Linked DNA regions of Homo sapiens: all the other regions are linked to region 2. Evidence: promoter capture Hi-C in 16 types of primary human blood cells and fetal thymus (Javierre and others, 2016). All regions are on one chromosome and are shown on one strand. The core of a region is centred on a gene start or on the middle of the fragment in contact, and the rest is flanking DNA. Distances in the headings are between cores, read along the strand shown. Region 1 has its middle 50 kb from the start of RNU6-8. Region 2 holds the start of LINC02313 (long intergenic non-protein coding RNA 2313). Region 3 has its middle 59 kb from the start of AKAP6.

The links. The method cuts DNA at HindIII sites, captures the fragments that hold promoters and counts their contacts. A CHiCAGO score of 5 or more calls a contact.
Region 1: a contact is called between a fragment that was not itself captured here and the fragment with the promoter of LINC02313 in region 2, in 15 of 17 cell types (naive CD4 T cells, non-activated CD4 T cells, total CD4 T cells and 12 more). The highest score is 31.5, in naive CD4 T cells.
Region 3: a fragment that was not itself captured here is called in contact with the fragment with the promoter of LINC02313 in region 2 in 4 of 17 cell types (naive B cells, naive CD4 T cells, total B cells and 1 more); the score reaches 6.2 in naive B cells.

The regions. Positions count from the first base shown.
Region 1 is chr14:32,251,069-32,254,518 of GRCh38, reverse strand. No RefSeq gene overlaps it. Among named protein-coding and RNA genes, the nearest start is that of RNU6-8, 50 kb to the right of the region's middle. The HindIII fragment of the contact is 2,285 bases long and covers 512-2,796 here.
Region 2 is chr14:31,943,539-31,946,744 of GRCh38, reverse strand. LINC02313 (long intergenic non-protein coding RNA 2313) reads right to left here and starts at 1,892. Exons shown (of 2, transcript NR_146544.1): 1 at 1,637-1,892. RefSeq lists an enhancer at 1,411-2,610. The HindIII fragment of the contact is 3,310 bases long and covers 1,050-3,206 here.
Region 3 is chr14:32,268,468-32,271,649 of GRCh38, reverse strand. It overlaps the pseudogene KIAA1143P1. Among named protein-coding and RNA genes, the nearest start is that of AKAP6, 59 kb to the left of the region's middle. The HindIII fragment of the contact is 6,403 bases long and covers 1-3,182 here.

The DNA of each region.
Region 1 (3,450 bases), core at 405-2,904, 310 kb before region 2:
AGCCTCTCAAAGTGCTGGCATTACAGGCTTGAGCCACCGCACCCGGCCTCCTGCATTTCTAAAATTTCTAAACCCAATGAAAACTTTCACTAATCTTCATCACATGCACCTATAAGGGTGTAGTTACAAATTGTCTTTTCTAAAGAAACCCATGGATTTTACATTGCCTCTTTCCAAGGAGAAAAGTCATACAGTATCCAAAGTTACACAACGGGTCAGGAGAACAGCCCAGAATACCTGTCAGTGTCTCTCGATTGAAGTGTTTATTCACAGAAGCAAAGTCATGTTTAAAGCTGAAAAAGTATTTCCTAAAATATACTCTAGTTGAATATTTCAGGTACAATAGTAAGTAGGTCACTTGCTCTCTAGGATTCAAAGAATATGGGCCTGCATTACTCTGTTTCTGCCCTGAACAGGAAAGTTAAAAGGAAACACTGCACAACAAGAAAATCCACAGCACACAGCTATTTAAGCAGCTGTGGCTTGGGGGTCAGGTCTATCACTGAAAGCTTTATAGATAATCTTCAAAACTAATTTGACCCACAAAAGTAAAACCAACTGGGCTTTCCCAAAAAATCTGCAAAAACCATATTCATAGTATCACCCTCCCTTCCAGATAATTTATAGTCAGAAATTGAACCCAAGAATAAATGCCCTAGAAATATTTTTTTAAATAGCCTAAATTTGACTGTCAAATCATGTTCCTTCTCCATGTTTTTTTTCAGTGTCTAATCTGGTCCTACTCCTACCCCCAAATAATTTTCCAGGGGTCCCAGGGGTGCCCCATGCTCTACACACCTTCTTTTTTTTTTTTTTTTTTTGAGATGGAGTTTCGCTCTTGTTACCCAGGCTGGAGTGCGATGGCACAATCTTGGCTCACTGCAACTTCCGCCTCCCGAGTTCAAGCAATTCCCCTGTCTCAGCCTCCCAAGTAGCTGGGATTACAAGCATGCACCACCACGCCCGGCTAATTTTGTGTTTGTAGTAGAGACGGGGTTTCTCCATGTTGGTCAGGCTGGTCTCAAACTCCTGACCCCAGATGATCCGCCTGCCTCGGCCTCCCAAAGTGCTGGGATTACAGGTGTGAGCCACCGCACCCGGTCCTACATCTTCTTGGATGCTATCTGCCACACAAAATAGAATAAGAGCTAGAAGGGACCTGACAGGAATACAGCTACTTCTATAGATAAGGAAAACTTGGTCCTGAAACAAACTCACCAAGGCTACAGCTTGCTAGTCCCAATATTGTAATTCCACCCCCCAGTGTCCCATCCCTCTAGGTCTCATCAGGTCATTCATTTTCACTAGAAGTAAGTGTAGGTCAAAGCAACTGGATTCATTACTACTCCTCTCAGAAAACAACTAACAAGGGGTTTTGGTTGAGAAATTTCAGAAAAAAACTGGTTGGTTGGTGGGGAACAATTTTGAACGATGGGTACTTTCCATGTCCTCAAATCACATTCTGCCTGTAAATAAATCACACTTCAAAAATACAAACATAAGAACTGATCTGTAGTGACCCGCTTATTGGCAACTGTAAAGAATGTAAGCTGCATGAGGAGAGAAACTCTGTTTTATTCACATCTGTATTTCCAGTATGTAGAATAGAAGCTGGCACTGAATAGCAGCTCAACAGCAAATATTCGTTAAATGAACAAAATGAAGAAAGCATCCCTCTTTTCTTCTCTCTATAGTCCATCCCCACCCCCATTTTGTTCTCTTAAGGTCTAGTTTCCTTAATCAAAACTATGTTCTGAGGTAAATATCTACCTGTCATTTATACTTTCGTAGCCTTTAAGTCACTGCTTGGAGTGTTTGGAATTTCAGTTTCACATCTAACAAAAGGCTTTGAACCCCCATCGCAGGTCTCCAGTCTCAGCCAACAATGGAAGGCCTTTGTGGCCAGGCCTTTCTGCACATATGGCCAAGATTTGGATTCTTTGGAAGAATAGCAAACTATTCATTGGAACAGCTCCCTTCCCCAGTGACCTCTTGATTCCCTCCTGTGGCTCTCCTTAGCCTTCATATCCTTGTAAAGTAATCTAAAACCCTATCTTCCTGCTGTCTTTATCTTCCTTTCTCAGCTGTCAAAACCTGGAAGACATGCTGCTGTTGCATATTTAGCCTCAACTATATTGTTTAATAAATGCCAAGTTGCCAGTTTCTCACACTCCACTCTATGAAGCCAGAACACCTCACCTTACTGAGTTAACCAGGAACCCATGCTCACCCTATAATACACTAGGGGGTGCTGTTGCTATATCCAGACCCAGTTGCTGTAGCCCGACTGGAAACAGGAAAAGGAAACAAGGGAGCCTTCAGGGTCCTGAGAGACATTTCTAGATGGGCCACTCTCTGCACAAGCCCTCAGCACAGTTCCTCAGAAGCAAAGAACATTATACCTTACCAAGCCACACAATTCCAGAATGAAGTTCACAAATGGTACAAAAAGAAGGGAGGGCTGAAGATCTCCAAGCGAAAGGCTTTATTGTAAGACTCATTAACATACATGGGCCTACACAATCATATTTATGCCAGCTGCTAGATGTGAATAATTAATGCTCACCCTGCTACCAGTTAAAACTCTGTTTAGACAATCAAGTGGCAAATACTGTCAGGCAGAATCGGATACAACAAATGCAATCATAACAGGCGAGAAATACTTGAGTTTATCACTGATTTTCACAATCATCTTTCCTTGTATGTGATATCTAAGACTTTGGGAATGAAAGTTTTATATACAAACAAATGAGTATCCACCTCTCTCAGCCCGCGGCTTGGCTGCTGCACAAAGCTTCCAAGCTGCCAGGGAAGCCTCCTTGGCCTCACTTAACTCTTTGCTGAAATGACTGGTAGACCCCATATGACAGAGAAAGCTCTCACATACATCAAAAAGGCTTTTGGCCTTTCAAATTTCTGAATAAGTCATCATGAAAAAAGAAATATTTTGTTGGGTTTGTGGATTTTTTTAAGATAAGTTTTAAAATGTGCATTTTAAAAAAATTATCTGAACGAGACCCTCACCTAACAGTGTGAACGTTAAACATTCCCACACAGAGAAGAATGGATCTCCACCAAGGGAAATATGTCTGGTATTAATCCAAGAAGAAACAATCTAGCTCACCCTCCCTGCCCCACAAGCTAGGGTTTCATACCCTTTGTGGTATGATTTGCAGTACTCCTCACAAAATGCTAGTAAGAACTCATTAATGCTAACAATTGAATTGGAACTATCTTTGGCTCCAAAAGCAACCCAGCCAAGCTAGAAACTTGAAGGATCCCAAAGTAAATCAAGAGGAACTAAGACAAAGGTGCCATTCTAGGGCCAATCTTCACAGAATGGTTTCCCTTTTGCCCTGAATCCCATCCCTAAAAGAGACCGAATCCCAGCTGTAGCTGCATCATACTTTCAAATGAAATGCAAGGCATTTCTGAGCCCAGGTTTTTCCA
Region 2 (3,206 bases), core at 643-3,142:
CCTTACCCCACCAACCAGGGTCCAGCTGCTGGGGCTCAGCTCTATCCTAGCTTGGGTCTCTGCACAGTGGCAGCTTTGGTGACCAATATACTCTGTAACTGCTGTAATTTAGGGGTGTCCCTGACTCTGAAGCCAACTGCAGAGGTTGAGAATAAGAAATAACTACATTTTCATGCATTCACTCACATTTCTCCTCCCAACCCACCACTCTAACTGTCTTTCTTTTAGCACAACTGTTGTAAATACATGATCCCCAGAACAGCAGCATCGCATCACCTGGGAACTCATTAGAAATGCAGATTACCAGGTACCATCCAGAAACTCTGAATCAGAAACTGTGCCCAGCAATCTATGCTTTAACAAGACCCTCCCCACGAGGACATTATTCTGATGAATTCTAATGTTTGAGAACCAGGGTCTTAGGGCACTGTTTCTGAAACTTTGTAGTGTATTAAAATCATGTGGGGTGCTTTAAAAAATTCCAATGCCCAGGCCACACCCCAGGTCAAGTAAATCAGGTTCTGTGGGGGTAGAACCCAGGCATCGGATGGATGTTTGGAAAACTCTCCACTGATTCCAATGTGCAGTCACAGTTGAGCCCCATTGCCTAAGGGTAAAGAACTCAAGAATATTAGTCGGCCATTTTCCCTATGGTGGAGAGCCTGTAGCTTTGAGCCCCGTAGAGAGAAGCCTTCCTGTGGGAGGAGAAAACAGTGTGTAAAATGAAGAAAGGGGCCAAACTGGGCATGCCTAAGCTTCGAAGGCCTCTTTCATTATAGGCTAGCTGCTGTAATGAAACAGGCAATTGCACCTGAGATTTTTCTGAAGTTGAAATGACCACGTGGAAAGGGAACAGCTTCTCTCCACAGTCCATCAAGAGGGGAGTGGCCAATGGGCCGCTTGGAGGACAAAGACCAGGGACACGCCCATTATCTGAGGCTTCAGGTATATTAAAATGAAGAAATCCCCAAATAGGGTTTCAAAAATTGTGATATACTATATTTTAGAAGTTTACATTTAATAAATTAAGGCTTTAACACGTGTAAGCTTTAAAAAAAAAACGCACAGGGTAATATAACCATCCTATTCACGGGATAATGGCAGGATTAATCTTAAAAATTCATGGGCCTGGTACCAAAATCAGGCATAAGTTTAAAGCTGATGATCATTTCCATCTTTTCAGTCTTATTAGCATATCTTCAGAGATAAATTTTTAAAAATCCAAATGTGAAGTCTCTGTGAGTGTGAGATCCCTGGATGAAAGGCCCTCCTTTGCCATGCCCCTGGGGCAGACTAAGAGGACCGCTGGAAAGAGATCCTAAGTGTGGCCCTGGAGCAGCTGTGAATGATTAGGTTGTGGGAAGACAACTGACATCTGGGTGCCTTGCGGCAGCCTGACCAGGGAGGTGGTGTCAGGGAAGCCAGAGCACCCCCCTTCCTCAGTGTGTTCCAGAGCAGTACAATACCTGCCTCCCTACACATAATGGATGCCTGCCCACCACCCTCTGTCCTCAGGCACACTTGGCTGCTGACAACAGGAAGTGAAACAGCCACACCCTCCTTTGACCCTATTAAGGTAACTCCTAGTTTGATACAGAGGCTTCCGGGGAGGGAAAGAAATAAGGGAGACACTTACCTTGTGCAGCACCTGCAGTGCTGTTGGTTTATAAAAGCACGAAATCTTCTGTCCCAGAGGCTGGACTGGGCTCATGACTGCATGTGAGATTGTGCTTTGGGAAGAGAAAGCAATCCCAGACTGAACAACAATTTTCTGGTGGCAGGTGCATCCATGAGGAGCTGCAGTCGGTCCCAGCAGCATATGCTTTCTCCTCTGGGAGGGCAACTCGGAGACGTGCAGACTAACGGGACCACTGGCTGCAAGCCTCAGAAACCTCTCAGGAGGTCCCTGGCAAGGCCTGTGGTATCTGGGCAGTGCAGGCAGCCTGGGCACCATAGGACAAAGGGGCGGGGAGTGGGGCAGGGAAGAAACAGCACAGAGGAAACAGCACACCTTGTTCTCATTGACTCGGAGTCAATGGCTGCCCACAGACTCTATTTCCTGGAGATTCAAGCCTCACACTGTCCTGTCCTCTCCCCTGAGTAAGTCTTCCAGAGAGTAAGAGCCACACCCAGGCAGAGGTGGGTGAGGCTGGGGTTCAAAGTACAGAGCCAGCCCTTTTATCTCATAGGCAGAGGAAATCATCCACTGTAAACCCACAGCGTCCTCCACCAGGGCAGCGTTTGATTCCTCCGTCTCATATCTCCGCTTGCCTTCCCTGTGGGTCAGTAGTTCCTGAGTTTCTCTAGCCTATAGAAAACATGAGGAGGAGGAGGAGAGATGGAGGGGGAGGAGGAGGAGAAGAGAAGGGAAGAATGAGCACATGGACTGCCCAGCCCCAGCCCCATGGCACCAGCATGGTAAACACTTGGAGGGAGGCCAGCCGTCTGGCGCCTCCAGTCTTCCACATCACCCCAGCCAAGATTCAGACCTGTATATTCTGGGCTCTTTCTGCCCCATTTCACCCAGGCTTTAAATTACCCAGACTTGGGTCTGGGTTATTCTATCCAAAACTTTCCTCTGAAATCTAGATTGTGATGCAATGTATACGTTCTCTAAATCAGATTTCTGAGGACTAAATGCCAGACCGCGTGGCGTAGCAGTCTGGCTGCAAACCATTTCCGTCAGCCCAGCGGAGGAACGCACAACAAGGTGCTCATCCCCGCAGCCGTGCACAGGAGACAGCAACGGTCCAGGTAAATTAGAAAGGCCTAACTTGAGCCAGCTAGTCATGGCAATTTAGGGAAAGTAAGGACTACACAGAGGCTCTGGGACGGCTTGCGGAATCAATGCCTAAGTTGCTGGATTGCTCCTTCTTTGGCTATGGAGCTAGTGGTTCCAAAATCTACCCCTTGATTCCTTAAGATGGAAGACCATTTAGACAAGCTGAGCCAAAACCCAGAGTCTTGGAACAAGCCTGTAACAATAATAGCAGCAGTAATGACAATGATTTTTAATATTCCTTGCTTAACAAGTGCTGGCCACAGTTCATGTTTTACATGGATTTACTTGGGGAATTTGATCGCTGGATCGAGGTGAGGACCATCCTCACTCCTCAGCTCCCCGGAGGACAGTCCCTTCCCCTCTGCTAGTCCTTTGACACAGACCCATTTTGACTTTTCAACTTCAACATTCTAGTTCAAGTCTT
Region 3 (3,182 bases), core at 123-2,622, 330 kb before region 2:
GTTATTTCCCTTGTGTGGTTGTATATATATGTAAATTATATTTCTAAGCAAAATACATTTTTTGTGTGTGTAAACAAAATTTTATAAATACAACTGTATTGCAAATGTTCTTTGTCCTGCTTCTCACTTGACATTGCATTATGAGTATTCTTCCAGGTCAGTAAATTTCAAAAACCTGACATTAATAGCTACAGATAATTTCATAAACATCTCATTGTATCTTTTTCATTAGCAATAGCTCCACTTTGGGTGGGGGAGATGATAATGTGCTTTGTTAAAAATACCTCCCCAACTCCTGCTAAGGGTGGCCATGAGACTCAGCTCTGGCAAGTTAAGAAATACAGGTGGAATTCTGCTTGATAAAGCTGCTGGGTTTTTTTGTTACAAAAGGACAGACTTGGCAAGCATGAGCCTTTGCTCTTATCTTTTCATCCTACTTGGAGTGCAGAGATAAAACCTGAGTACCAGAGCCACTTTTAGGCATAAGGAAGGCAGCCATGTGCTTTGGGTCATGTTAGTAAAAAGACTCAGAGCTTGGCTCCTTGCTGACATGCCTGGAGGAGCTGCTACACCAGCTTGGATTGCTGACCTCTGACTTCTTGGTAGTGAGAAGAATAAACACTGTGCTTAATTAGGCCTCGGTCAGGTTTCTCTTATATGCAGCCAAATGCAGTCCTAAGTAATACAATAAATAACTGGTCAAACTGTTACTGGTGGAGGGTGTCCAGGTTCTTGGCATTTTGGACAAATAATTGAACAAAACGCACAAAGCAATGAATATCCTCTAGAGGTTTGCCATTGGTTACTTGGCGTACACCCTGTGTAAATGAAGTAGTGGCCCGTGACCTGTCTGATTGGTGCAGAAAGTGACCAATCAGAGGCTGAAGTGAAGTTACAAAGTTATACTCCTGTGTAAATGAGGACTTGGCTTATGACCAGTCTGATTGGTTGCAGGAGGGGACCAATCAGAGGCACTTTCATGTTTCATCTGCAATGCAGAAAAGGCAAGGGGATTGCAAAGGGAGTAGCCTCTGATCCTTTTGTTACTTAGGTATGGAGAGGTGGGGTTTTCCTTTTGATTCAGTTCTAGGAAGTCAATGTGAATCAGCCTTAGGTTCCCTGTCTCCAGACCCTATTCTCCTGCCTCATTTTCCCCCTGAGAGACGTGATCCTCGTAAATCTTTACGGGAGGCTGAGAGACTGAGGGTCTTTCTTCTGTAACTGCTTCATGCTAACTTGGGACACAGTCCCTACCTACTGGAGATCACGTAACTCTCACCCTGCTTTGTCTAGGGGAGACAGGGTAGCTTCTTGATGGCCGGTGGTGTCTTTACCTGAAACTGGCTAGAAATCTTGTCACATGATCATCTAACTTGGTGGTCTCTAGGCAAAAGGAAATGGATTTGGTTAAAAGATTTAACAAATATGGTCCAAAAACCAAGGCAAATATAATCATTAATAATGGGCTGGCCAAGGGAGGGAGCCATGAAACCCAACTTAGTGCCCTTTAGGTGCCCCAGCTGTTGTCATATTTTAGAGGCCCAGTCAGCTAGTTTTCAGGTGGTGTCCCTTACTAATCCTGATTGGCTGACATCAAAACAGCATTCTTCTTCTAGGAAAATACATAAGCCACCTGTTTCAGCAGTTAGGAGATCTAGTCCCCTTCAATTTTGCAAAGCGACCACTGCCAAGGAGCCTATCTGAATTTGTAAGGTGACAATACTTTGAGCAATGTTATCCAGGCTTTCCATAAAATCCTTGGACAAGCGTTGGTAATAGGATAGGGAAGTTGCAATCCCGCTAACTCCCATTCCTACCCCTGCTGTTATTCCTAGCCGTTGTGTCTGGTGGTTGCAGTTAAAGGTATAATGAGGGATTGGTTGTTGGGAGCTATATTAATTTAGGGACATACAATATTTCTGTCTCCAGTCTACCACTTCCACCAAAGACAAATCACAGCAGAACCGACCTAACTTCAAAATAAACTTCAGTCCCGTATACTGGGCCTGATTACCCACACAAAGTGCAACAAGAATCATTGTCCATATAGACTCTCCTAGATTGGCTTTGCTAGAACATTTCACAAGGCCATTTCAGTCAAAGTCCTGAGAAAGTAACCGGTTTCAATTGTGCCCTATTACAAAAGAAAACGTGGTTATTAACTTTATACAGACAAATGCCATGAATTAAGAATATTCATAAATAGTTTACAAATTCTGGAGAAATTAGAATACTCAATACACTTAAAGTGTATTTCAAGGCTATAAATAGCTCAAAATAAAAAGATTATTCAGACTCTGAAAAAACAAAAAGAAGTAGCAATATTTCAAACAACAAAAGCCATACAAATTATTTCAGTCTTCCATTAGTTCATTTCAGTCCATGTAATCAACTCCTGCTCTACTTCATATTCATCTTTATGAACACATCAGCCTTTCAATTAGTGCCTTGGAAGTTTTCTGTCTAATCCAATGGCACACTCTCCAAAGTTACCAGAAACCTGCATTCAAGAGTTCTTTTCATGAACTCCAAAGAAGTAAGCCTTGGACTGTAGCTGATTATAAGTCACTTTTTTTTTTTGAGAAGGATCACAGCAAAACATCAATTATGGATGACAAAAGTCTTAAGACAGCCATAAAGACACAGTTGACAAATGTGGCTATTTCTGTGGCTTACAACAATTTAACATAATCATTACAACATATATTAAGACATATCAGAATTTTAGAACTCTCATACAATCCTGGAACACATATTAACAACAAATCTCTATCAGTATAACCCAAAGGAAGCTAAACACCACTTCACACTTGACAATGTTTCCTGTATAATTCAAACATTACAAATAAGCCTAATATGTCACTCTTGAACTTCAGGAAGCCTAATATCCAAAAAGTTAGTTTAGGGTCAAAAGTTTTTGAATTAACTTTTTTCCATTAGTATGGTCATATCTTTCTTACTAATTTGTAAGTTATGTAATTTATCAATTTTTTTGTTGTTGTTCTGTTTCCCAACCTCTATGTCAGATAAAGAATCACCCAGGCCAGACACAATGGCTCATGCTTGTGATCCCAACACTTTGGGAAGCCAAGGTGGGAGAATTGCTTGAAGCCAGGAATCTGAGCCCAGCCTGGGCGACAAAGCAATACCCCTATCTCTACAAAAAATAAAAAATAGCCAGG